5 separate regions of the Homo sapiens genome follow, and regions 1, 2, 3 and 4 are each linked to region 5. Evidence: promoter capture Hi-C in 16 types of primary human blood cells and fetal thymus (Javierre and others, 2016). All regions are on one chromosome and are shown on one strand. Each heading gives the region's core, a stretch centred on a gene start or on the middle of the fragment in contact. The rest is flanking DNA. Distances are from core to core; before and after follow the strand shown.

Region 1 (5,543 bases), core at 1,204-3,703, 200 kb before region 5:
ACAAGAACCTCCCACCTAACTTTCTCAGAGGCACAGTTCTTTTCCAACTGCTTCCTGGTATTTGTCCTCTCTGCCCTGTCTGAAGTTGGCAGCATTCCTGTCTTTCAACATAGACTCTCAGATTGTGAACCTTATCTAATGTATTTTCAGTTCCCAGATTATATAGGTTCTAAAGTCTCTAGTAATTGATGCTGTTAATGCTAAGGAGCTGTCTGTCTTTGATAACTCCTGCTCACAGTGAAAAGATCCTCCTGGACTTTTCAGACCAGTTGTAAGCACTTTTTTGTCTCCTCAGTCTCTTCTTTAATCTATGTCTGGAGCAGGTGTGATGGACATGAAGTTGTGCTACCCAGATCACCCCTAAAGAAGGAAACCACAAAGAGACATAGAATTTGAACAGATAACTGCATTTGATTTATATGTTGTCTTTCTGTTCTGTCCTGGGCCCTCACCAGGGTCTTTCTTCATTTTATTTGCCAGTGCCACAGTTGCATGGCTGTGCACTGTATCACTCCTGGGGATTACCATCTATTTGGACTGCAGAAACAGAGGAGTCTGTAGAGTTGTACACTGTGCTGGCACCTCACAGGTCTGCCCTGATCAAGAAGCTTGATGCTAGTGCATAATTAAGAAGTGAAGAAAAAAGTGATGGCCACCATTATGCTACAAACAATGCTGTAAAGTTGTTTTTTTCAGGGAATATGAATTATTTTAAGTGAGCATGTAAGGCTGTCATTTTGACAATAGCTTTATTAGATGTACATGGATGAAATAATAGCAGTAGTAAGTGAAATATTTTAACTTAGAAACTCTGACTATTATTCTTTGAAATACCTTTTCATATTAAAAAAAATAAACTAGTGTTTTCACATTTTCAAGTTGAAGAACACTGTGGATGAAGCAACAGTAATCATCAGAGCATTATCCCATGAATCAGAATGGAGAATGAGTTTCCATTTCTTTGAAGACCGTGCTGTGTTTCAGTGAAAATAGTTTTAGGTCTATAACTTTATCGCAGATCCCATGATAACCAGGACCCATGATTATTCATTCATAAATGTATTTATTTTAAAAATTATTAAACACTGATAAGAGACTAAGAATGATCTATGAGTTACTGAAACCAATTGGAAAACTACTTATTAAGATCTAAGTCTTTGAGAATGTGCGATACATATTTTCAATACATATTTAAAGATGTGCTGTTTAGAATACAAAAAAAGTTCTGTTGATAGGAGAGCAACATAGAGTTCAGAATAAGAAAATGTCTATGACTGAAAAAATAACCAGGCATCAACTTACCTATAACTTATTCCAGTTTCCTTTCAAAAGAAGGGCTATGCAGTCAAGACACCGAAGATTATCATCAAGCCTTTGGGCACTTTCTTGCTGCATCACCTCGCTGACCATTCCAGAGATGTCTTTAATCACTTGTTCTCAATCCAGCCACTATCTCATTGAGAATTCTCAAAGTAATATTTTACAGAGAAGTACAAAAGAAGAACCAAAAGCTTTGATTAACGAAATCATTTTTGTAAGAGTTAAACATCCCCCACCCCGACAAACAACTTCTTTGTAAAGGATTTGTCCTTAAGATTTTAAAATGTAAACATAGATTAAGGCCAAAGATAGAAATTGTTCAATGTCATGAACACAATGTTAAAGCAGACCTTTGAAACCGGATTTTCCAGCTACCAGTTAATATTTTAGAATTATTACCATATTTGAATTATTACAATATGATGGCATTTCCTTATTTGGGCTTTGGCATCTGACACTAAGCACAGTTGCATAGTAGGTCTCAGGAAACAGATCCTCTGCTAGTAGAGATTGACTCATTACAAACCAGATTGATTTCTAATTCCTTCAAAGCAGTCTATAATCTTAATTTTTCATCATTCATATCACATTGTCATAACTGCCACATTTCAAAGAAAAGTGATTTGAATCCCCAGGTTCTAAAAATGGTGGATATGCTCAGAGAAATTAAATCCTCTTGGGGTCTGTTAATTAGCCAGTTCCACTTATCTGAGAAAATGAAATCTTAAGAAAATCTGATGCTGCTTGGTATTTGGAGTTTGGGAATTTCAGTGTAACTAATGTCATGTTGTGCCAGGATTCACTGTGTGGAACCATGAAGCCAGAACATAATCAATGCTGTGAAATCACAATACTCAGATTATAGAAAAATAAACTCTCCAATATCTGCCAAGGGAGTCATGAGGCTTCTTAACTGAAAGCCTACCTGACTACAGAACCCTTAATGGCAATTAGCTATTTGTCTCTGTTTTTCGATCTCAAAAAAATTTAAAAGTAGTCTCTGTCCCCATTTTGCGGAGGGGGTTTCCATTCAGAGGTGTGATGGACATGAAGTTGTGCTACCCAGATCGCCCCTAAAGAAGGAACTTTCTGCCCCAGCAGACAGCCTCCAGTTGTCAACTTTGGTAGGGTTTGACCCATCTGCAGAGAGCCACATTCCCTAGCACTCACTTTTTTTTTCAGGCAGAGTACCTGATTAAGGCAGAGGTATAGAGGCCCAGCCATCTCAGCCCAATGTGAGTCGTGTCTGATGGGCTATATGCATTCCTGCATTCTCTATGGGGAGTTCTCTCTCTGCCATCCTGCTTCCTGACCTTCACTTCCAAAGATGTCAACTCCTAATAATAATAGTAAGCCCCTATCTTTACCAGACTTTGTCTCAGTCTTTGCTTCTAGACAACTAGGCCTTTGACAAAAGATAAAATGACACAGATTTAGACATACACTATCTTGTGTTTGAGGAAATTCTGAAAAACACAGTCATATACAATTCAGCATGAAGATACTAGCAAACACAAAAAAAGATTTATTTAGTGCAGTTGGGCTAAAAATTGCATGTCTGTTGTTTAATTTTTCATCAGCTCCTCAGTCAAAGCCCACAGGCAAATCCCACACTGTTGACGCGTTTCTAGCTTTCTGGTAGCGCCTTCTCTTTTACTACAAAAATTGCCAACTTAAACAACAATGTTTCTAAGGGAATTGGATTAAAAGGAACTAAGGCAGCTGAAAAAATATTGCTATATAGAAGCCTTGGAAGAAATACACAAAATTCTAAGAATGTGAAAAGGATTACAGAAAAACACTTTCATTAAATTCGGCAAAATATAAGCCATTTTAATGTAAATGATCTATTGAGGATTATAGATCTTTGTGGTAAACAATTCAATGAAATTATTGTTTAATTAGTGCCTATAACGTATATGGCCTGCTGTACAGTGTAGTAAGAATTACAATAAAGTGAGAGCAGGAGATTCCTCTCTTCTGATAAAGGATGAAATATGAAAATATGTTAAGTGCATTTCAAATGTTGGGGATGGGGAGACAGGGAGAGAAAGAATATGCGTCTGAGGAAAAACAAAGCTTCCTGGTATCTGAGAAAGGTTATTAAAAATGAGTAATATCCTGCCAGGTAGGATTGAAGGGGTATGAAATCCCAGTTAAGGAAACAGCACGAAGGATGGAGAAGAAACTGTGTGTTTTGTTTGACTTCCACTGGTCTTAGTGTCTCACCCATGAAGGGAAGTAGTTGCAGAGAAATGGGGCATTTCAGACTGTGTTTTTGAAAACCACTTAGCCCATTAAATAGTTCTTCTGGGTTAACTTGCTTGAGGGAAGTTCTTGGAAAAAAGACCTATTATCTATTAGTACATATTTGAGCTCCTTGCAAATGTGCACAGTTTAGAAAGACTTGTTTTCTGTTTCTTTTTAAAATTCAGGTCTGTGCTTGTTCTTTCACATAAAAACGTCTGAGTACACTGTCACCGCACACATGCGCCAAGTCCAATTAAATGTTAGGGCTCAGATGCCGGTATTCTGTACACGTGTTCATCACTGCCTAACAGTAGTTGTGCAATAGTAAGTGAGTGGGTAGGATGAAGAATTGTGATAATATCTTTTACGGGTTTCATCTGAAGGTTTTGGAAGCTTCTTGGCTGAATTTTATTTTTGTGAAGGGGAATGTGAGCAGATGGTAGATGTTGTCAGTGATTTAACTTTGAAATAAAAGTGTCCAACTACCTCCTCTTTCCAGCTTCTAGATTACATTAAAGATACACAACAACTATGTATCTTTGTGAAAGTGTGTAATCTTAGCAATTACAAAAGTAAATGAGATGTTGAGATTGACATGATTGTAAATGTCACTCATAATGTTGCTCTAATTTTCTACTTATGTTTATTAAAGCTGGCTCATTGTTCTTATTTAGTGATGTTGAAATTTTAAAAAGTTAAAAATTTGGATATATAATATATAATACCTTTGTACTAGAAAAATAGCAATTTTGGGTATTTTAAATATGTATGATATTACCTGAAAAAGAATACATTTAACAGTTTGGAAACTTCCAAAACTGAGATACCTTCCAAAGAAGTAATTTAATGATCTCTTCTAATTTCAAAGAATTTCCTATGCCCTGATGTTTATTTGCAAGAAGTAAATGGATGAGAAAGAGTATCCATTACTATTTTTCAGGAAATAAAAATAGTAGAGCAAAATACCTTTTGTTTTCACCACAAATTTTCAGTAACAAAAAAATAAGCCAAACAAAAACTGCAATTAACATGACTATGAAGAAATATTAGTGAACATCTACTATATGTCAAGAACAATAATTGACACATAGTAGTTACTCATATTTGTTGAATGAATGAGAGTTTTTGGATATTAATTCCTAGTGAGAATGTAAAGAAACAGCCACATACATAACAATCAGGGTTTTAGAGCTAGTTTATTTAAGCTGAGTGCAGTGTCTCATACCTGTAATCTCAACACTCTAAGAAGCTGAGGCAGGAGGATCGTTTGAGCCCAGGAGTTTGAGACCAATCTGCGCAAAAAAAAATGGGATACCGTTTCTACAAAAAAATAAAAAAATCAGCCAACCGCGGTGCACTCCTGTGGTCTCAGCTACATGGGATGCTGAGGCAGGAGGATCCCTTGAACCCCGTAGTTCAAGGCTGCAGTGAGCTGTTTTTGCGCCTCTGCACTGCAGGCTGAGTGGCGGAGTAAGACCCTGTCTCAAAAACAAAAACAAAAAAGAGAGAGTTTATTCAACTAAAAACGAGCAAAAATATGAATCAGTATAGTTTTCAAAATATTTAAACATGAAATCTGAAAGTTATAACACTGAGTTCAACAAAAACTTGAAATTCTTAAGATGTCCAAAATAAAGCTTTACATCTAAAGAGAAGTTTTGAATAGTGATTTTGTTATGTATCTAGTATTTGGGCCAAAAATAGTAACATATGTTAAAATTACAAACAACAACAACAAAAAATATATTTCAGAGCAGAGCTGAGGAAAAGATAAGATGTAAAGCAATTGAGAAATAAGGAGATAATTCAATGTGATTACTAGCATCTTAGTATAACGTAAACAGTAATTTCTAAGAGCTCTGTTGGAAAAAAATGTATAGCAGAATTGATTACAAGGAAATATCTATAAGAAAATTGAAGTTATGGAAATTGATTTTTAAAACATCAATTTAACCTTTCCAAGAAAAATAATG
Region 2 (5,547 bases), core at 1,311-3,810, 210 kb before region 5:
TATTCATTTTTTTAAATGTGAGATAGGTAAAAATAGAGGCTGTGAGAGACAGGAGGTAAAGAGAGAAGATTTCAGTGGTGTTGAAAAGAGGAGAGATGGAGGAGACAAAGTTGCCTCATATCAAGAGTAAGAGAAAAGATTTGGTCCTTTTCTTATGAGTGTTGGACTGGGCTTCTTTGTGACCCTAGATAGTTCTTATTCATATTTTAAGTAAAATTATAGTTTGGAAAGGGTAATATTTCACATCTGAAACTGAAACTTTTCTTTCTTGAGTCAATTAGGTGGATGAGACCTAGCTGTTATATTCAAATGTCAGGCAGTCTCCTAAATATTATATTGAGGAAGACTAAGGATTGGACTTCACTCCACATTAGATTTAAACCTTTGCACTATGGCTCTGATGAACAGAAATTTAATGTTCTTTGATTTTCCAAAAAATGGAACCTAATTCACAAGTCTTTATGTCTGCTGTGTAATGACAACCAATTCACACTTGTGGGTAACCCAACCTTTGTTGACAGCAGTGCCTTTCAGGTAATTGTTCAGTAATACAGGATTCCAACAATCAGTTAAAGTTCAAGCTCCCAGGAAGAGCTGTCTTCCTCACAAGGGCCTGCCCTTTCTTTTCCTTGGGTTGACACTTGGGTGAGGAGAGAAGATTCACAGGAGTAGGGCAGAGGGACGGAATACTCTGCCTATTGTCCTTTTGTCCTCTCTGGCCTCTGCTGTAGCTCTAGGCCTTGGTTTTTACATCAGTATCTTCTTATCATCTCCAGCTGGTAGAGGAGAGAGGCAGAGCTACATAAATAATCTGGGGAAAGGGAAAAAAATGGACAAAAATTTCCCAATTGCATTTTTCCACAACTCATTTGTGTTTAGTTTTCTGCCAAAAATAAAGAAGAGGTTTACAGAGAATAGATGCCTTCTATATTAAGGGAATGATAGAAATATTACTTCATTATTATCTCCTTCAAATATCAACCAGCACACAAATGCCAGTATTTCATCCTATGAATAAATGTGAAGACACATTTATCTCATAACTAAAAGTTCTGTAAAGCATTTAAAAATGCTTATAGTTTATACTTATCATTACACAAAAATGCATATAAAATCCATTATTCTGTGCCCTCAAAAATATTCATTAAGGGTCCATGTCCCCAGTTACTTGGGGGAAATAATGACAAATTAGACCCTGTCCTTATGGAGTTTACAGTGTATTGGCAAAAAACAGTTGTCAAAAAAGCTATGAAAATAAAAATTGATGACTGTTATGATAGGGGAAATATATGGGGCTGACAGAGCATTTGGCAAGGGAATGGAGATTGAGTTTGAAATTGGAAGGACATGTAAGAGTAAATCTCTCTATGCCAAACAGAGAACAGCATGTGAGATGCCTTGAGATGGGGATGGCCATACTTTAAGAGAAGCCAATGGAGCCTCATCACAACTAGCAAATAGTTGTGGCCCAAAATGATGCTGGAGAAAAGCCAACTCTGAAACTTAAGGGGTATATTTACAACCTTGGAATTTATTCTGAGGGCAATGGGAAGGCATTTACTGGTTTTAAGTTAGATACTTATTAAAACAACCAGCCTGGTTGGAAAATGTATAATATTGTTGTAGGCCCCAAGTGGGTATGTGAGGTCAAAAATTTAGGTTGACAGCTGGCAGCAAAGGATGAAAAGAAGATGGACAGATTCAGGAGCTATTAAGAAAGTAAATTCAACAAGACCTGCTGATGGATTAAGTATGGGAGTGATCAAAGGGAAGAGTCAGTGGTGACTCCCCATTTGTCCTTCTGGTAGATGCTGTGCCAGTTGAGGGCATATGGGACAACAAAGAAGGGAAGCAGGTTGCAGATATGCAAGAGAGGAAGAGCTCCCTTTTGCATATATTCAGTTCGAGGAGTCTGTTGGGCCTGTATGTGGTTAGGAGACAATTGACTAAATAGGACTAGAGTTCATTGGAATTGGAAGTGCTTGTTGAAATCACCCGATATACTTGGCAGCTAAAGCACTGAGAACAGATGTGACAGCCTAGGAAGACAACATAAAACTAGAAGAGGATGCAAATCAGGACCCAAGGAAACATGGTGTTGAAGAAAAGGCAAAGGAAATGAAACTTTGAGAAGGAAAGGCCGAAACAGGTAGAAGTATCAGAGAGGACAAGGGAAGACAGCATTTCAAGAAGGAAGAAGTGGTCAAAATTGGTCAATGTTGCTGAAAAGCCAAGTAACATAACTTTTGAAAGTGGTCATTCACAAATTTGATGAGAAAAATTTCAGTGACTTTCTAGGGCCAGAAGACCTTAGGATTGAAACAAAGTGAAGGAATGGATCTAGGGTAGAAGAAGGTGGGCAAATGCACTCTGAGTGTATCTACTTATTCAAAAAGGCCTGTCTGGAATTTACATTTCTTCACATGGATTGAAATGCCTCCCCTGGATAAAAGAATCCAAGCTTTTATAAAAGATATCATTTTAAAGATATCTTCAATAAGGCTCATGATTGAGAGTGCAGCAGTAGAGACCATATTTTTGAGGATAGCCAAGAAAAATCTGAGTAAATACTGGGTTTGTCTTTCTTTTCTGCTTTCCTGCCTGAGCAGTCAGCAGACCTGCGAGGGCACTGCTGTGGCACCTACTGCACTGTTGTTGCTTAAGCTTTGTGCCAAGAGTATTTGCCAGCCTGAGTTGGAGCTGGCTGCTGCTAGTGTTGCTCCAACTGAGATGTCTAGTTAAGTCCTGCTCTTTTGTGAACTGAATAGCAGTCTTTCTGGCACTGCCTGGAGCTTTCATATCATTGTCATTTTCAGCAAAAGGAATAAAATTTTCAGTAAGATAGGCTCCCCAAGTAGAAACCAAGCCCGCTTTGAGTTTGTAATTAACGTACAGATCATACTGATAGCCTGGCCACTGAAAATAATTATTGAAACAAAGTTGGTATAAATACAATAAATAAATGCATTCTTCAATACAGACAGTTCAGAGCTGCTTAGACTATGTTATGATAAAAACAGTGTAGGAAACAGTTTTTAAATAGTCTTCTAGTACCTAACTTTTGTATTTTAGATAAATAGCTTAGAATGCTGGTGTCCAAATCAAAAAACTATCAAATCTAAATTAATGTGAATTCCATGGAGGCTTTTTGCAAGTGGTCTTTTGCACATGTGAAATGCCTGCTTTGTTTTTGCATTTGTAACAGCCTTTTTGAATTAGATTACAAACCAACCCTGTTTCTTGGGACCAGCATCACCACCAGGCTGGTTCTGAAGAACTGTCGTCTTTCAGTTAGACACCCACACGTCTCACTGAATTGCTCCCATCTGAAAACAATGAGGTAATTCACTATCCAAGTGCTCTCCAACAGACCGAAAGCATCAGTACCAAGCTGAAATCTTCAAATAAGGGAGGCTTTCAATGTTTGTCTAAAACTCCTTAACCTACTTGCAAAAAGAACAGAGACCATTTATTGTCTGGAAGAGTGATCTGGGACAGAAGACAGGAGAAAGGGAAAGCAGAAAACTGATGCCTGCTGATCTGATTCTCCAAACTAAACTCTAAAGCTGATATTAACCATGAGCAGAAATATGTCTTGTTCAAACAGCACATACATTGGCTGGCTGTGGGGTGCTAGGCTGAATTTAAATGGAGCTGAGGGAAGTGCTGTGTGTCAACCTCTTCGTGCCTTATCATGTTCGAAGTGGATTAACCTCATCAAGCATTGATCTGTTTCTGTAACAAGTTGTGACGGCTAACTGCTCTCTCTGCACCGCACGAATGGAGGTATTATTGCCATTGAATTTTAAGCCCTGGTGACTCACTGTGCTGAGCCTTATGTCTAGCAACTGAGAGAAGAAGAACTCAGCATCCAGCTTTTTTTTTTTGAGTGCCCAGAACAAGTCATGTACATTTTCCAAGCACTTGTCCTCTATTTAGTCCTGAATCTTAGTTTATGCTGCAGTAGGCCAACTTATTATTACTGCCTACTATACATTTGTCTTTTCCACTAGAAAGAGAACTTCTCAAGTAAAGGAATGTGTGTTTCCTTGTCTGTGACCTACCATTTTATCCCCAGCACCTGGCATCCCAGTGTTTGAAAATTTGTAGACGTTCAATAAATAGTTGCTGAGTGACTGAATGTTTGAAAACATCTCCTGCTAGTAAGAGCAAGTTGACAGTTAACCTTAACAGATGCTATTAATCTGGAAATAACATTTTTTTCCTGCTTGCCTACTGACACTTAAACTATTTCCTGGGACCAGACAGGAAAGACAATGACATCTCTTGTTTTATTACTATAAGAGAATGATTGACTAAAAAATAGTAGCTTTGTACTTCATAAGTCCAAGTGCCATCATATTCACTGGTTGCTTTTAATCAGTTACTCTGAGCTGCGTTCTTATTCAAAGAATATTAAAGCAGGAAGAACCTCAGAGATTTGCTAATCCAATTTGTGACAAAGCCAAGACTGGAAACCAGATCTCACTGTTCTACTCATTGTGACACTATGGTCCCACCTTTTCATTTACAAATGCATAACACGCACTGAAGCATTAAATCCCTCACCCCAAATCCCCATACTGCAAGTCAAGACAGAGTCAGGGCTGGAAAACCAGCACATGAAGTTGTAGTTCTAGTAGGAATCAAAGAAACTCAGCTCTCTGAGTTTTTCCCATGATTTCTATGAATAGTAAATGAACACATATTCTGTATATGGTGCCCATCCCATGATGAAATAGACAGCTGTGGAATCTCAGGGTTGGGAGGGATCTCAGATCCCATTAAACCACGCCCCTCCTTGGTCTTGGCTATTATATCTCCAGTGCTTGGAAACTCATGCACACAACCTCCTTTTCTCAGCACATATTGAATAAATCTAATTATTGGAAAGTTCATTCTTTAGAGCAAACATACAACTTTCCCTCATTGGTTTAATATGTATCCTTTGGGACTAGAGAGAGTAGGATTAAGCCCTCTTGATTATTCTAGGACCATGCTATCTGAACAAATTGCATTGCCTCCACAAGTCATCTCTCCTTTAGGATATATATCTGTCCACTGTATTCTTATTGCCATGGAAACTGTATGACTCAAGTGGTACACACATAAAGAGTAGCATTCAACTACCTAGAAAATAACCTAGGAATCAAAATGATGGAAAACGATACAAAGTGGTAACAATTCATAAATGAAATAAATACAACATGAAAAGTAATTAAAAATAAACACAATTTATATTTATTAAAGAGATTGTCTTTTCACGAGTAAAGATAGGGACTCTGGGAATAAAAACAAAAGTGGTAGAGAGGGCGGGTAAGATGAAGATTTTCTACGGCAGTTGCTCAAACCTTAAGCAGCCCCTTGGTAATGACAGTAGGTTCATTTTCATTGTCTCTGAGGTACGGGACCACTAAAATAAAAACAACAATTTAAAAACTTCCAGAGAGCTTTGACATCTGTAAGAATAGCTCAAAGCCATTGTGTGTATTACATGGATACCACATTGCATCAGTTATTTCAGGAAATTGTAAGATAAAAAAGTTT
Region 3 (5,918 bases), core at 2,090-4,589, 140 kb before region 5:
TAGCTAAGATCTTTCCTGATTTGGAACAACTGATAAAGATTCAAAAGAAAAAGGAATTAAAAATGAAATTCTAAAAAACGATTTTAAATGTAAGCAATACTTGTTATTTTTCCCAGTTTAACATTTCTCCAGGAATGAAATTTAATGTTTTGAGCTGCCTTATAATGAAATGCATAAATAATTAGCATTTTGCCTCCAGAGGGTGATATTATCCAGCTAACTGGTGAAAGCACAATATTACATGTCATTTTAAATCAATCCCAAGTAGCTTTTTAAATGTAAGTCCCTAATTTTACAGCATCTTTATGTAAATTTTGGAAATAGATTTCTCTCCATCCTAGAAGAGCATCAAGTGTAATAAAGATTTTTAATGATATACCATCTGTTGTTAGAGCATATTATACAGACAAATGGATGTAAGTCTGGAAGTTACAAGTTGAGGGGCACTAAACGCATTTATTTGAGTACTATATTTTGAGTAGAAAGTGTCACATATGAAAATCACCCTCCTCATAAGTTTTCAGTCTTTGTTAAGTGCTACTACTAATGATGACATTGATGATGGTGTTGGGAGGAGAGTAAATGGTGATGCCAGTCTTGGGAAACATGTGTAAGACCCTCTCAGGAAATTGTTTTTAGAGAAACATAAGTTTGAAGCCATATCCAACCTTCTGCCCTCAAATGACATCACTAATTTTGTTGCATATCTTACACAGGAAATTCTCTCTAAGATAATTTTTGATGCTTCAAAAAATCAAATTTACTCCTTAAGACTGAATATTTGACACTTCTAAGGATATGTATAAAAATGTATTGTAGGTGCCAATGGAAGTTGAAAACTATGGCAATGACAGCATTATTGGAACTTAGCCTCCTGGGATGACCATTTTGTATGGGAAGACATTCAGATGGATGCTTTGATAAAAACTGCTACTTGTCCCCTATATCCATTTTCTTTTCATACATGGTAGTAGAATCCCTGATTTTTAGCTGGATACATGACTGCATGGAAGAAAGGCTACATTTCCTTGCCTCCTTCCAAACAAGATGAAATCATGTCACTTGGTTTTGGTCAATGGGATATAAGCAAAAGTGTCATGTGGCAACCTTGAATTTTCATTACTAGACAAACATCCATGCATTTTTTGCCCTTTCTTCTTTGTCCACATCTTTTTCCTACAGGCTGAAATGTGACAAAATAGTTGGACTGAAACAGTTACTTTGGCCCATGAGATGATCTTGAGATTGGAGGTCACATAAATAGTAGAGCAGCAAGAGATAGAATTCATATGCTTGAAACATTCATGGGATCCAGCCCTATGCAAGTCCTAGCCTGCATAACTTCAGACTTTTATGTAAGAGAGAACTAAGCATACCTCTTCTGCAAGTAACAGTCATTAGGTGCCTCAGCAACTCAAAAGGAACCTCACCCTATATAGTAAGTGTGAATAAGTTCCAGTGTGTTTGTTTAAAATATATACTTTTAGAATAACAGTAAAAACTCAATGTATAGTTTTAGAATAACAGTAAAAACAGAAGTGTTTTGTAATTTAATAAACTCAGTTATGCTTTATACTCATGTTTGTGTATTATCATTTAAATACTAATTTTCAAAAAACTTTGGGAGTTGGGAAAAATATTGGAGTACACTGAGGTAGCCAGGAATGGGAGTGGTGGTAAGGAGAAGCTGCATTCCAGATTTCCTCATACAGAGTTTAGGAGAGGATATGAGGCCTCTTGTGTTTTAACTGAAATCTAGAGTTGCTCAGTTCCCATTTGTTAATTCTATCACAAATATTTATTTGGTGACCATTGTGCTATAGGCAGTATTAGAGGGGATTACTATAGTGTAATGATTAAAACAGACAAGTTCTAAGTCCCATGGAAATTTTATTTTAGTGGGAGGACACAGATTGTAACGAGTAACCAAATAAATATATAATACGTGAGAGGTGATAAGCGTTATGTAGAAATTAAGCAGGATTAAGAGGTATAGTGGAAATGACTGTAGGTTAAGAGGGAAAGGGTGAAAATTCAGAGATGTTCTTTCAGTCAAGAACAAGGCAAGTATTAAATAAACTTATACTTAGGTCTACTGTTCTTAATATGTTCCAGCTCCTGCATGGTCCCTGTTGAGCACACACGAGCAAACAATGACCACCTTCTTCTTATCCCAAGAGCAATATGAAACTTGTGATAGTTAATACTGAGTGTCAACTTGATTGGATTGAAGGATACAAAGTATTCATCCTGGGTGTGTCTGTGAGGGTGTTGCTAAAGGAGATTAACAGTTGAGTCAGTGGGCTGGGAAAGGCAGACCCACCCTTAATGTGGGTAGGCACAATCTAATCAGCTGCAGTGTGACTAGAATATAAAACAGGCAGAAAAATATGAAAAAGAGACTGACCTAGCCTCCCAGCCTACATCTTTCTCCCATGCTGAGTGCTTCCTGCCCTTGAACATCAGACTCCAAGTTCTTCAGTTTTGGAACTTGGCCTGGCTCTCCTTGCTCTTCAGCCTGCAGATGGCCTACTGTGGGACCTTGTGATTGTGTGAGTTAATACTTCATAAACTCATATATATATATATATTCCATTAGTTCTGTCCCTCTGGAGAACCCTGATGAATACAACAATCATAAACTTGGAATCTCCTTAGAGCTTGGATTTTAGGATGAGAAAGAGGAGATCCAATATTTTTTCTCTGTTTCAGGTTACTTTTAAATTCAAACACACATCTTGACCATAACATTGGCCTTTTGTAAGATCCTAATCTGTGTTCACTATTATTATCCCAGAGATGATACCACTCTATTATCCCAGAGATGATGCTTTTATTTCTCATCACTTTTATCAACTTTGATGGATAGATTTTACAAATCTTTTGACACTGGGAAAGTAGTCCTATAACAAAAAGCACAGAATTCAAGGTGCAAAGAAAACTACATGTGTTTACAGGCATACCTCAGAGATACTGCAGTTTCAGTTCCAGACTACCACAATAAAGTGATTATCACAATAAAGTGGGTCAAATGAATTTTTTAGTTTCTCAGTAACTATAAAAGTTATGTTTACACTATACTATAGTCTATTAAGTGTTCAATAGCATTATGTCTTTAAAAATCTATGTATCTTAATTAAAAACACTTTATTGCTAAAAATGCTAATCATCAGCTAAGCCTTTAGCAAGTTGTAAAGGGTCTTTCTTCAATGCTGATAGCTGCTGATTAATCAGGGTGGTGGTTCTTGAAGATTGAGGTGACTGGCAATTTCTTAAAATAAGACAACAGTGATATTTGCCACATTGATTCACTCTTTAGTATATGAAAAATTTCTCTGTAGCTTGTGATGCTGTTTGATAGCCTTTTACCCACAGTAGAACTTCTTTCAAAATTGGAGTCAATCCTCTTAAACCCTACTGCTACTTTTTCATCTAAGTTTATGGAATATTCTAAATCATTTGTTGTAATTTCAACAATGTTCACAGCATCTTCACCAGGAGCAGATTCCATCTCAAGAAACCACTTTCTTTGCTCATCCACGAGAAGCAACTCTTTATCCATTCAAATTTAGCCATCTAGTCACATCATTAGACTTCACTTCTAATGTAGTTCTCTTTTTATTTTCACCTTTGCAGTTACTTCCTCCACTGAAGTATTGAACCTCTCAAAGTCACCCATGAAGGTTGGAATCAATTTCATTCAAGCTCCTGTTAATGTTGATATTTTGACCTCCTCTCATGAATCATGAATGTTCTTAATGACATGTAGAATGGTGAATTCTTTCCAGAAGGTTTTCAGTTTACTTTGCCCATATCCATCAGAGGAATTCCTATCTATGGCAGCTATAGCCTTAAAAAACATATTTCTTAAAATAATAAAACTCGAAAGCCCAAATTACTCCTTGATCCATAAGCTGCAGAATGGATGGTGTATTCGTCCATTTTCACACTGCTGATAAAACATACCCGAGATTGGGAAGAAAAAGAAGTTTAATTGGATTAATAGTTCCACATGGCTGAGGAGGCCTCAGAATCATGGTGGGAGGTGAAAGACACTTCTTACATGGTGGCAGCAAGAGAAAATTAGGAAGAAGCAAAAGCGGAAACGCCTGATAAACCCATCAAGTCTCATGAAACTTATTCAATATCATGAGAATAGCTCAGGAAATACCGGACCCCATGATTCCATTACCTCCTCCTGGGTCCCTCCTACGACACACGAGAATTCTGGGAGATACAATTCAAGTTGAGATTTGGGCGGGAACACCACCAAACCATATCATATCATTCTGCCACTGTCCCCTCCAAATCTCATGTCCTCACATTTCAAAACCAATCATGCCTTCCCAACAGTCCCCAAAAGTCTCATTTCAGCATTAACCCAAAAGTCTACAGTCCAAAGTCTCATCTGAGACAAGGCAAGTCCCTTCCGCCTATGAGCCTGTAAAATCAAAAGCAAGCTAGTTACTTCCGAGATACAATGAGGGTACAGGTATTGGGTAAATACAGGCTTTCCAAATGGGAGAAACTAGCCAAAACAAAAGGGTTACACAGCCCATGCAAGTCCAAAATCCAGTGCAGCAGTCAAATTTTAAAATTCCTTTGACTCCATGTCTCACATCCAGGTCATGCTGATGCAAGAGATGAGTTCCTATAGTCTTGGGCAGCTCCACACCTGTGGCTTTGCAGAGTACGGCCTCCCTCCCAGCTGCTTTCATGGGCTGGTATTGAGTGCCTGTGGCTTTTCCAGGTGCACGGTGCAAGCTGTCAGTGGATCTAGCATTCTGGGGTCTGGAGGATGGTGGCCCTCCTCTCACAGCTCCACTAGGCAGTGCCCCAGTAGGGACTCTGTGTGGGGGCTATGACCCCACATTTCCCTTCCTCACTGCCCTGGCAGAAGTTCTCCATGAGGGCCCCGCCCCTGCAGCAAACTTTTTTCTGGGCATCAGGCCATTTCCATACATCTTCTGAAATATAGGTGGAGGTTCCCAAACCTCAATTCGTGACTTCTGTGCACCTGCAGGCTCAACACCATGTGGAAGCTGCCAAGGCTTGGGGCTTCCACCCTCTGAAGCCACAGCCTGAGCTGTACATTGGCCCCTTTCAACCATGGCTGCAGCAGCTGGGACACAGGGCACCACGTCCCTAGGCTGCACACAGTACGGGACCTTGGGTCCAGCCCATGAAACCACTTTTTCCTCCTGCTTCTCCAGGCCTGTGATGGGAGGGGCTGCTGTGAAGGTCCCTGACATGGCCTGGAGATATTTTCCCCATGGTCTTTGGAATTAACATTAGGATCCTTGCTATTTATGCAAATTTCTGCAGCCAGCTTGAATTTCTCCCCAGAAAATGGGGTTTTCTTTTCTATCTCATTGTCAGGCTGCAAATTTTCTGAACTTTTATGCTCTGCTTCCCTTATAAAACTGAATGCCTTTAACAGTACCCAAGTCACCTGTTTAATGCTTTGCTGCTTAGAAATTTCTTCCATCAGATACCCTAAATCATCTCTCTCAAGTTCAAAGTTCCACAAATCTCTAGGGCAGGGGAAAAATGCCACCAGTCTCTTTGTCAAAACATAACAAGAGTGACCTTTGCTCCAGGTCCCAACAAGTTCCTCATCTCCATCTGAGACCACCTCAGTCTGAACCTTATTGTCCACTATCACTATGAGCATTCTGGGCAAAGCCCTTCAGCAAGTCTCTAGAAAGCCCCAAACTTTCCTACATTTTTCATTCTTTTTCTGAGCCCTCCAAACTGTTCCAATCTCTGCCTGTTACCCAGTTCCAAAGTCACTTCCACATTTTCAGGTATCTTTTCAGCAACACCCCACTCTACTGTTACCAATTTACTATATTAGTCTGTTTTCACACTGCTGATAAAGACATATCTAAGACTGGGAAGAAAAAGAGGTTTAATGG
Region 4 (5,412 bases), core at 979-3,478, 180 kb before region 5:
GACTTTTACTGGGACAAGTAAATCAAGCCTTCAGCAACTCAAGGAACAAACATACAAGACAAGCTCAACTCCTCGTTAAGACCAAATTAGGACAACACTACAAGAAAATAAATTGTTTTATCTGGTTGTGGTGCTTTGGGGATAGTTAATTGACTACTCAAATAACAACTTTGATAGTATATGAACTGTGACTGTGTTAGTAGGTTTTAATTAGCAGGAACTTTTTGTAAATTGGACAAAAACTTTTTTTATTATGACTAGGAAAACTGCTGTTTTCTATTTTTGTTTTGCTCTTTTAAGTGATACCGAACTTTAGTTAATCCCTCAGTCCTAAATTATGGCTGTTGCGAATGAGGGCTATAATAGTTATCCCATTTTATTTTAAATTTTGTATTAATGTTGATAGAGATGAAAGAAGAAAAATATTTGCACTCATGCTGAAATTGCAAAGGAACATGTGTGAATGACCTCTTGGATACTTGTTGCTTGGAAATGCGAGCAATAGTTTCTTTATTTTTATTTTATTTTAGTTTTTTGAGACATGGCCTTGCTCTGTCACCCAGGCTGGAGTGTAGTGGTATGATCAGGGCTCACTGCAGCCTCAACTTCCCTGGTTCAAGCAATCCTCCCACCTCATGCCTGGCTAATTAAAAAAATTTTTTTTTGTAAAGACACAGTCTTGCCATGTTGCCCAGACTGGTCTCGAAGGCCTGGGCTCAAGCGATCCTTCTGCCTCTGTCTGGAAAGCAGTAGTTTCTATGCAGTGACACCTATACTACTAACTATAATTGAACTTAACCTAGAAAAGCATTTTGCATGTTTAGCTTTTAAGTGTGTTTGACAGAAAAGGAGAAAGGAACCTGAAATAAGAAATAATCTAGTGATAAAATTGTTGATGTTCTCCTTCACTGTAATCCATTCCAAATATAGTTTATTTTGCTACAGAGCATGTTCTGTAATGTAAATGGAAATAAGATTGTTAAAGAGGGAATGATGTGAACATAACTTGGGTGATGAGAAGGCTCCTAAGGGATTTTCCCCCTGCATTTTGCACTGCCAGCATTTACACTGCAGCAGAGTGCAAAATATGCTAACAAAGCTGCATACAGCAAACCTTAGAAGAATACAGTACTGTACACCATGTCCATTCATCCTATCTTCCCAGGAGGTTGATCATGTGCAAAAGAAACAATGACAAGATAATGATCCAAAATCACCAGCCATATCTTTGCTGTGGTATGTGTGAAACTTGCATCTACTTATTACATAAAATGCTACACCTGTAACTTCTGATGGTGTTGTGCTTTTTTCTGTAATTCAGCAGTCTTTCTTTTACCTCATTCTGATAGCCTACTTTCATTTGTATTTGGAATAAAGTCATATTAGTTACTGTAGTATTGCTTTCTTTATTATGATTTTAACATTTTTTAAAAACTGTGATAAATTGTTATTGAGTAGGATTTGTTATTGTTGTTAATGCTCTGGTCATCAAGTGCATTAAGTTTTGAGTGGTCTATGCTAATTCTATTTTTTCCCCCATTAACTTTGTAACTTGAAGTGTGCAATGTAGCTTAATGCAAGCTTTTCAGAAATGCACGTGTATGTTATATCAGATGTTTGTACTGTGGTAGGACTTTCTCCCTAGTTCAGCTAAAGATGGGGTCCTTGCCATACAGCTATGTAGTATTAGGCCTGCAGACACTTTGAAGGGTGAGAAAAATGGAATTTATTGGAAAAAAGGAAAAAAGGGGAAAGAGGGACCCTCAGCAGAGTGAGAGTCCTGCTAGTATATGCTTCCCGCGTCACAGATTGAATTCCAGGTTCCACCCAGGAAGAAGAGGGGCCAGGCTCCTCCCCAGGGCAAACAGAGTGAACTTCCTGAGGCTCCACCCCAGTGTGCATTCCTCCCAGCACACAGGCCAGTTGGGGGTTCTCCAGTGACTCCTTTATATTTGGCTGTCTCGTTACTTCTAAAATATTTCATATTCATAAAATAAAAATGTTTTAATAATGTTATATATTTGTAAAGGCATTTACAATCTTCAAACTTCTGCATGAAAAATCTCTCAGAAGTCAAAAATGGATTTACTGTCCTGATGTAAAATAACCTGCAAATCTTACTTTCTAATTTTGGTGATATATGTGTAAAAAGAAATAAATCATCTCATGAACAAAATTAAAAAAAAAACAAAAACTGAGAAGTTGCGGTGAGTTCTGAGGCAGTACGGTGTGGCATGAGAATGCAGGCTCTGAATCTACAGACTGCCTGGTTCAAATACTAGCTCTGCCAAAAACTAGTTACATAAATGGAGCAGATTATTTAACCTCTCTTTATGCCTCAATTTTCTCATTTACAAAATTGTTGTTAGCATTAAGTGTGTTAATACTTATAAAATACTTCATATTTATATGTATGAAGTATTATTACTGCTTTAAAATACCATTGACTGATCACATTATTATACAGTACATATCTTCTACTGATATATGAGTTCCTTGAAGTAAGACCTATGTCTTATTGCTGTTACATCTTCAATGCATGAAACATAAGAAATGTTCAATCAGTGCTAGTTGAATTGAATTAAATTTTTTAATTACTATTTTTTGTTTTCCTTTGACTAGATAATTTGTTTGGAGATTCTTCCAAAGATAATCACTTTTCTTCCTGTGCAACCTATATATTTTTTAAAACTATTTTAAATTATTTAGTTTTAGAATTCTTTCTTATCTCTAAAATGTAAAAAGATATCAACAGATAGCATCAACAAATAGGTATCAGATGGTGAGATAAGAGATAACAAAAGCTGATAAATGTAAAAGCAAACAACAGTGAAAATTTGTGATATACAAGTTTCAGTTCCAAAGAAACAACGGATTAAGCTTTTATAAATAGCTAAAATGAATAACAATTCAAGTGAATACCTCTTAAGATATGCTACTCAACAAATGCTTTTTGAGCCAAACACTCTTTTGGATGCTGAGGACTCAGAAAAAGAAAAAAAGTGCTTTTCCTGAAAGTCTTCTGATATTATTAAAGGGATGAAACATATATATTATAACCCTTGACTAACACGGAGTCATAAAGTCTTGAATATATGAAGTCATGTCATAGGTAATTAACCAGATTGGGTTCTAACCTTTAAATAATCTCTCCAAGCCCGTCAGCTGTAAAAAAGTTGTTAATGTTCCTTCAAAATGTGAAATTCTAGAGCTTAATATCTATAAATAGAGCTTTCATTGTTATGCCTCAAAATTCAACAGCTTTCTCAGTTGACAGACATTTGTCTCATATTCCTTAAGTTACCTTTTCCTACTCAGGAATAACCTTTTCTTACTTTTCAAAGAATAAAAGACATACAGATTTGGCAACAAGTAGGTTATTAGTAACATTCAAGCAAATAATAGCGCAACTTTTTAATGATAGTAGATTTAATTATAAAGCCTTATAAAGGAAATTGATAATATATTCCAAATGAGACATCTTATTCGAATGCTCTGTGGATCATTAAAACACATTTATTACTGTTGGTCAAGGAATGCAACCCTATTCCACTTCATATTAAGGTGAGAATTATGAATTAATTCCTTAGTATTCATAATGTTTAAATAGATTAAGATCAATTTCCTTAAACTCCAGTGTCTCTAAATACCTTTCTAATTTACTGTTTCCATTGTCATCCGTTGTATAGCATGGTGTCTTTTACCTGGTCAACATATCACCTCCTCTTGCTGGCTAGTCTATGTATGTTCCAGTTTGACTGTTCAGCTATAGTCTGAGTAAGAACTGGATATGTCCTTGCTTTTTTGATGGCATAGTCCTTGTTGATTAGCTTTTCTTTCATCAGTACTCTTGATTCAGTCTTACTGTGCTCTGATCATGCTGTCTACAAGTAATGGTAAAGGGGGTGTTTTGCCTCCTATACACCTTAACATAGAAAAATAGATCACATAGTTTTTCACTGTGCATGATATTGAGTGGTTGTGTCTGCATTCTTTCTTTTGTGTCTCATACAGCTTGGCTCTGTGTCCCCACACAAATCTCATGTTGAATTGTGATCCCAAGTGTTGAAGGAGGGATCTGGTGGGAAGTGTTGGATCATGGGAGCTAATTTCTCCCTTGTTGTCCCTGTGATAGTGAATGAGTTCTCATGAGACCTGGTTGTTTAAAAGTATGTAGCAATTCACCCTTTGCTCTCTCTCCTGCTGGCCATGTGAAGAAGTGCTTGCTTCCCCTTTGCCTTCTGCCATGATTGTAAGCTTCCTGAGGCCTTCCCAGCTATGCTTCCTGTACAGCCTGTGAAACTGTGAGCCAATTAAACCTCTTTTCTTTATAAATTACCCAGTCTCAGGTAGTTCTTTATAGCAGTGTGAGAACAGACTAATACAATGTCATTTAATAATTTGACTTTCACTTCATCCTAATTTCCAGAGAACTTTGCTCCTAAATTACTTACATATTTATTATTTTATAGGGTTTCATACATATGTAGTATATATGTATGAAATATATATATAATAGGGTTTATATATATGAGAAATACATATTTTGTAGGGTTTCATACATACATATATATACACACACACACGTATGTAAGATTTCATATATGTATATGTATGTATGAAAACCTAAAAAATAATACAGGCAAAATAAGAGTAAATCTTCATGATCTTGGGTTAGGCAATAATATCTTAGATACCACACAAGCATAAGCAATTTAAAAATTTGATAAATTGTACCTAGTGAAATTTAAAACTATTGTGCTACAATAAACATGGTCAAGAAAATGAAATACAATCCATTGACTGGGAGAAAAGTATTTGAAAATTATATCTCTCATAAGAGACTTGTATTCAGAATTTATAAAGAATACCTATAGATAAATAATGAAATAAAAATGGACAAGAATTGAATAGACATTTTTCAAAGTGTATACACATTAACACGTGAAAATTTGTTCAGCACCATTAATCATTAGGAAAATGCAAATCAAAACCAAAATGAGTTACTACTTTACACCACTAGGGTAGCTATAATAAAAAAAACAGAAAACAACAAGTATTGGCAAAGATGTGGAGAGATTGGAACTCTCATACATTGCTTGTGGAAATGTAAAATGGTGTAGCCACTTTGGAAAACCATCTGGCAGTTTCTTAAAAAAAATTAAGCATAGACTTCCTATATGACCCAGCAATTCCACTGTTTATTACCTACCTAGGAGAAATGAAAACATATGTTCACTCGAAGACAAATTTACACAGCAACATTTTTCATAATAACCAAAATGTGGAAACTATTCAAATGTCAATCAACTGGATAAAAGACATGAAAAAACATGCCTTATACACATATAATGGAATATTACACAGCAATAAAAAAGAACAAGGTACCCATACGTACTATACTATGGAGAA
Region 5 (5,515 bases), core at 2,974-5,473:
AGGAGCAGCTGGGCCCTCCTTGGCACAGGACAATCCTAATTTTTTCTCTGTATACTCTCTTTCCAATTCTGCTCCATCTTAGCCTTCTCCTTCTCCTACTTCATTGGTGGACATCAGCTGGGAATTCCTTACACTTCTCCTATTTCTTTCTCTTATTTTCTTCTTGGGGAAGGAAAGGGTCTCCTCCCTTTCCTAAAGTGAATCTCAGAAGTTCAATTTAGAAGGATATCCTAATGATATCCTTCTAAAGGATATGAGATGAACCTTTATCTCATAAATCAGGGTCTCATCGTCTCTCCTCCGTAAATCCTAACAGCTGTCTTACCTATCAGCTCCCAACTTCCTTCATATTGCTACCAGAATTAGGTTTAGCATTTGTGGTATGATATTTATTTAGTCAAATCTGATGGTTTTTTGGTCTCTACTCAGATGGGAGATTTCATATTTTATGTTTATGAGAAGTTTCTTTTTCCCTTTTCTGCCTGTGGCCCTCAATTGGAATTTTTCCAATGATTTTCCCATTCTTAATGATTGTTGGATTTTCTGTGGCTTAAAGAAAAAGAAAATAGAGATTTTCTAAATATGGTGATAAAAATCTTTGTAAACATAATAAGGGCAACCTTTTTGTTTATGAGTCTAAAACTCAACAGATCTGATGTCCCAGTGATTTTCTCTCTCAGATTATAGGTAAATCGCTGGCTGTTTTTAAGAAGCCTATGTAGAGAAGTGGAATATTTAGAAGCTTCTGAAATACTCTTTGACTATCAATAACTTCAATATCTGGCTTAGAATTTTCTCTCCTGAGGGAAGGCTTCTGGGAGTAACGCTTTCTAAACGCAATCTGTGCTGGCCACTAAAAGTTAACGTTTCTCTCAGTGCCCCGTATTTGCTTTTTTTCATCATGGGATAGTGGCTGAATGCATAGACTTCAGTGACAAACAGCCTACATTTAAATCCCAGTATCTACTGTGTGACTATGGGTGAATTACTTAACCTCCCTGTACCTTAGTTTCATCACTTATAAAATGGGAATACAATGGCCAAATATCATCATGCATATTTTAAGGGTGAAAAGAGATAATCCTTTTTACATGTACACAGTACTTGAGTGTACAGCAAAGGCCTATTTTTATTGCTATTGTTATATTTACTATTATGGTTAGCTATATATATTATTTGCATTTCCAACTAAATTGTAAATCTCTTGAAGTCAGGTTCTTACACTGCTACTTAAATATAAGGGCATAAGAAGGGCAACCTTTTTGTTTATGAGTCCAAGACTGCCATTAAAAGTAATGGCAGGCCGGGCGCGGTGGCTCATGCATGCCTGTAATCCCAGGACTTTGGGAGGCTGAGGCGGGCGGATCATGAGGTCAGGAGATCAAGACCATCCTGGCTAACTAACACTGTGAAAACCCCGTCTCTACTGAAAATACAAAAAAATTAGTCGGGCATGATGGCGGGCGCCTGTAGTCCCACGCCAGGCAGGAGAATGGCATGAACTCGGGATGTGGAGCTTGCAGTGAGCCGAGATTGCGCCACTGCACTCCAGCCTGGGCGACAGAGTGAGACCCCGTCTCAAAAAAAAAAAAAAAAAAATTAACATGGAATGCTTAGGGATGTCACTTAAATATGTAAGAATTTTTTATCATGTCTTTAAGCCATCTATAATTGATGTTCAAATGTGAATAATGATTCTTAGATTTTTTCTTCATTAATAATAGTTGAATGTTTTACAAATAGAAAGTTATAGTAATTACTGAATATATGTAACTTATTCCCACAAGGCAAAATTTTGATTTAAAGCATAACTGAAACATAACTGTGTAGTTAAATATGTTGAATGCAAAAGCAATGCTTACAAAGTTTGTTTATTTATTTATTTATTTATTTATTTATTTTGAGACGGAGTCTCACTCTGTCGCCCAGGCTGGAGTGCAGTGGCTCGATCTCAGCTCACTGCAAGCTCCGCCTTCTGTGTTCACACCATTCTTCTGCCTCAGCCTCCCGAGTAGCTGGGACTACAGGTGCCCGCCACCACACCCGGCTAATTTTTTGTATTTTTAGTACAGAGGGGGTTTCACCGTGTTAGCCAGGATGGTCTCCATCTCCTGACCTCGTGATCTGCCCACCTCGGCCTCCTAAAGTGTTGGGATTACAGGCGTGAGCCACAGCGCCCAGCCCAAAATTTATTTTTTAACATCATTTTTTAAAAAGTCTGTGGTGCACTTAAAACAACTATCCCCCAATTCCTAGTAAGGTGTCAGTTTTCTGCAAGTACTTAATGGTATCTGGACTAAGTGTACATTTCAAAACACTCACATTATGAGTTAATGCATTTGCAACAAACTTCTGAGTGAAGTCAGATATTGCCTAGGTTGCAAATAAAAAATGCAAAGGAGTGAGGACTTAAGACCTATTGAGTACCCCTGGAACCCTTAATGGTTTTCTTTGCTTCCTTTTCTCTCTTAATAGACAATCATCCCACCTAGGACCATACTAATCAAACAATACACAAATGTTTCATGTTAAGGCTCAGAATCATAGACTCATATAATCAGGAGATTGGAAGGAAACACAAAAAGTAAGACTTTTCAAGACAACCTCATTCACACTGTTTACTTGAATTATTTACTCTTGTTTTATTATTAATTTTTATGCTGTTCAATTGACTACAATTCAAAACCCAGTGTATTCATACCATGTGCTAAGATATGCTCCTTCCTATATGTGTTCCTCTAAAGAACCATCTGGATCTTGTGGGGGATATTTTCCTTTGTGGTATCAAAGCCAGGAGCTCGTGGTTTTCCTTTATTTTTTAAGGGAACACTATCATGTAGCATCTGGGACCAGAAAGAAATCTTGATGTTATATATTTTACAGATATTTTCTTTTTGGATTTTTTTTCCTCTAAGAGAAAAGCTTTTGTTAATGTGTCATGTAAAAATACATTAACTAGTAACTTGTCAAGAAGTGCTAGATTCCATTCTTGTGCGGGTCCATTTATATATGTTCCTGAACAGCTAATATTTCATTTAGTTTCCAATTAAACTTGCTCAAATACATTTTTGAAGTGCATTGCTTAAAATTTACATTCAAGGCAAGAAAACGAGTTTGTCAGTAAATGTAGTAATTAAGGAAGTCCCAAGTCTGTATTTTTAAGATACTAGAGGTAATTGTAACTAATCACTTTAACTTAAAGAAATAGAATTGGAAATACCCCCCTCCCCCCGCCACCCCCTACCAAAACCATACCTTAGTCACTTTGGAATTATAACCGTCTTTTACGTCTATCAATATAAATGTATTGCATTTGGCATTCAAATTACTTTCAAAGGGATAAATTTCGAATTTTTTTTTTTCATTGTAGCTTCTGATCTTTAAATGTACTGAACAGGAGGATTTGGGGAGCTTGTCTTGTCTGATAGGTGTTAAGTATCTATGACGACAAATTTGAGCTGAAGCAATGTGCAATATGGACTAGTAATATCTTCACAAGACTATTTTGGAAATTCTCACGTTGATGTTATTAATGACGTGGGTTTATTAGCATTTGGGTAATTAAGAAAAAACAGTACTAGAATTTAAAAAAAAGAAAAAAAAAGGTAAGAAGGGCGAAACAGAGTTCTCCACTCCTCTCCCAACCCTCATTCCTTTGGAGGCTCGCGCCCTCTTGGAATAGCAGGTTCCTGCATGTGCCAGAAATCCGGTCCCGGCAAAGCTAGACGCTCTGCAATGACAGGCGTTCCCAGCTAGGGACTCCTGGCTGCTTGGAGCTTGAAAACACCTGGCGTGGTTCTCGAGGGCCCTAGAGGCTCCTGCTACGGACTGGTCGGCTCTGGGGTTGTAGGCAGAAGGCTCTAAGCGGTCGGAAGGGTTTCCTGTGTGTCAGCAACTTCACTTTGCCGAGATAGCTGGCGGAAGAGGGAAGGAGCGCTCGCGGGCCAATCGCCTGCCAGCAGCCACCTTGGAGCGCACCCCTCTCCCTCGCCGCCGACTCCGGTAGCAGCGTGCCGGCAGAGGCTGAACACACTCGGCCTCGGCGGAGACCTGCTCCCCAGAAGACGCCTCCTGCTTCCCACTGCGCCCTGGAGGACGCGGGCTGGCTGCTGGGCGAGCTCGGCGGAGGCACGCCCCTCGCCTCCCCGCGGAGTGCGGACTCGCCCCGGTGCCCAAACTCCGCCCACCCTCTAGGGAGCTCCGCTCTCCCGCCTAACCCCGGCACTCCGGACAGAGCTGGGCCTGGGGAAGGGGTTCCTGAACTACGCGGACGCCGAACGGGACGCGCTGCAGAAGCGCACGAGTCTGCGGCCACGCGCGCTCCGATGGCTGCCAGGAGCTGAGCTCAGGGTGGGCGGAGGAAGCGGTTAGACGCCCCGAAACTGAGCTGCACGTTTCTAAGGTAGGGAGGAGGAAGATGCCCCCAATTAAGTTGATCTTTGAGCCAAGGAGGCTGGGGAGCAGCCTCCCCAAGCTAGAGCCCTGCAGAGCGAGTTTCCCTTGACCTCGCTGCGCCTCTGGCGCGCTCTGCAGCGCGGACCCGCGGCCCCTCGGGAAAGCGCAGTCGGAAAGTTATCCGCGGCGGTTCCCTGCGCGCCCTGTTGTGTAAGCTCGGCGTTGCCAGCGGACGGAGAAGTTGCTGGCTTGCCCGATAGCCCAGTTCGGTGGCGGCCCGGGGCGGATTTCATGGCCCGCGGCGAACGCGGGGCCAGAGCTGGCGTGGGCGAGCCCCTGCGCGCCCCCTCCCGCGGGGATCCAGTTCGCCTGCTCCCTTCCGCTCGCTGGCTTTTCCGATGCTTGCTGCGCCCCTGGCCGCCGCTGCCCTCTCGCCGCCTCCTACCCCTCGGAGCCGCCGCCTAAGTCGAGGAGGAGAGAATGACCGAGGTGCTGTGGCCGGCTGTCCCCAACGGGACGGACGCTGCCTTCCTGGCCGGTCCGGGTTCGTCCTGGGGGAACAGCACGGTCGCCTCCACTGCCGCCGTCTCCTCGTCGTTCAAATGCGCCTTGACCAAGACGGGCTTCCAGTTTTACTACCTGCCGGCTGTCTACATCTTGGTATTCATCATCGGCTTCCTGGGCAACAGCGTGGCCATCTGGATGTTCGTCTTCCACATGAAGCCCTGGAGCGGCATCTCCGTGTACATGTTCAATTTGGCTCTGGCCGACTTCTTGTACGTGCTGACTCTGCCAGCCCTGATCTTCTACTACTTCAATAAAACAGACTGGATCTTCGGGGATGCCATGTGTAAACTGCAGAGGTTCATCTTTCATGTGAACCTCTATGGCAGCATCTTGTTTCTGACATGCATCAGTGCCCACCGGTACAGCGGTGTGGTGTACCCCCTCAAGTCCCTGGGCCGGCTCAAAAAGAAGAATGCGATCTGTATCAGCGTGCTGGTGTGGCTCATTGTGGTGGTGGCGATCTCCCCCATCCTCTTCTACTCAGGTACCGGGGTCCGCAAAAACAAAACCATCACCTGTTACGACACCACCTCAGACGAGTACCTGCGAAGTT

What was found. The method cuts DNA at HindIII sites, captures the fragments that hold promoters and counts their contacts. A CHiCAGO score of 5 or more calls a contact.
Region 1: a fragment that was not itself captured here is called in contact with the fragment with the promoter of P2RY1 in region 5 in 1 of 17 cell types (megakaryocytes); the score reaches 5.6 in megakaryocytes.
Region 2: a contact is called between a fragment that was not itself captured here and the fragment with the promoter of P2RY1 in region 5, in 1 of 17 cell types (megakaryocytes). The highest score is 6.1, in megakaryocytes.
Region 3: a fragment that was not itself captured here is called in contact with the fragment with the promoter of P2RY1 in region 5 in 1 of 17 cell types (M2 macrophages); the score reaches 5.1 in M2 macrophages.
Region 4: a contact is called between a fragment that was not itself captured here and the fragment with the promoter of P2RY1 in region 5, in 1 of 17 cell types (megakaryocytes). The highest score is 6.0, in megakaryocytes.

Annotation. Positions count from the first base shown.
Region 1 is chr3:152,635,455-152,640,997 of GRCh38, forward strand. No RefSeq gene overlaps it. Among named protein-coding and RNA genes, the nearest start is that of P2RY1, 200 kb to the right of the region's middle. The HindIII fragment of the contact is 1,888 bases long and covers 1,510-3,397 here.
Region 2 is chr3:152,617,900-152,623,446 of GRCh38, forward strand. No RefSeq gene overlaps it. Among named protein-coding and RNA genes, the nearest start is that of P2RY1, 210 kb to the right of the region's middle. The HindIII fragment of the contact is 203 bases long and covers 2,460-2,662 here.
Region 3 is chr3:152,695,807-152,701,724 of GRCh38, forward strand. No RefSeq gene overlaps it. Among named protein-coding and RNA genes, the nearest start is that of P2RY1, 140 kb to the right of the region's middle. The HindIII fragment of the contact is 7,542 bases long and covers 1-5,918 here.
Region 4 is chr3:152,657,304-152,662,715 of GRCh38, forward strand. The region is part of intron 2 of LOC102724289 (a long non-coding RNA gene); the gene reads left to right. Among named protein-coding and RNA genes, the nearest start is that of P2RY1, 180 kb to the right of the region's middle. The HindIII fragment of the contact is 1,299 bases long and covers 1,580-2,878 here.
Region 5 is chr3:152,830,908-152,836,422 of GRCh38, forward strand. It overlaps P2RY1 (purinergic receptor P2Y1), which reads left to right and starts at 4,224. Exons shown (of 1, transcript NM_002563.5): 1 at 4,224-5,515. The coding sequence starts at 4,876. RefSeq lists silencers at 4,131-4,180, 4,893-5,187 and an enhancer at 4,361-4,460. The HindIII fragment of the contact is 2,977 bases long and covers 2,921-5,515 here.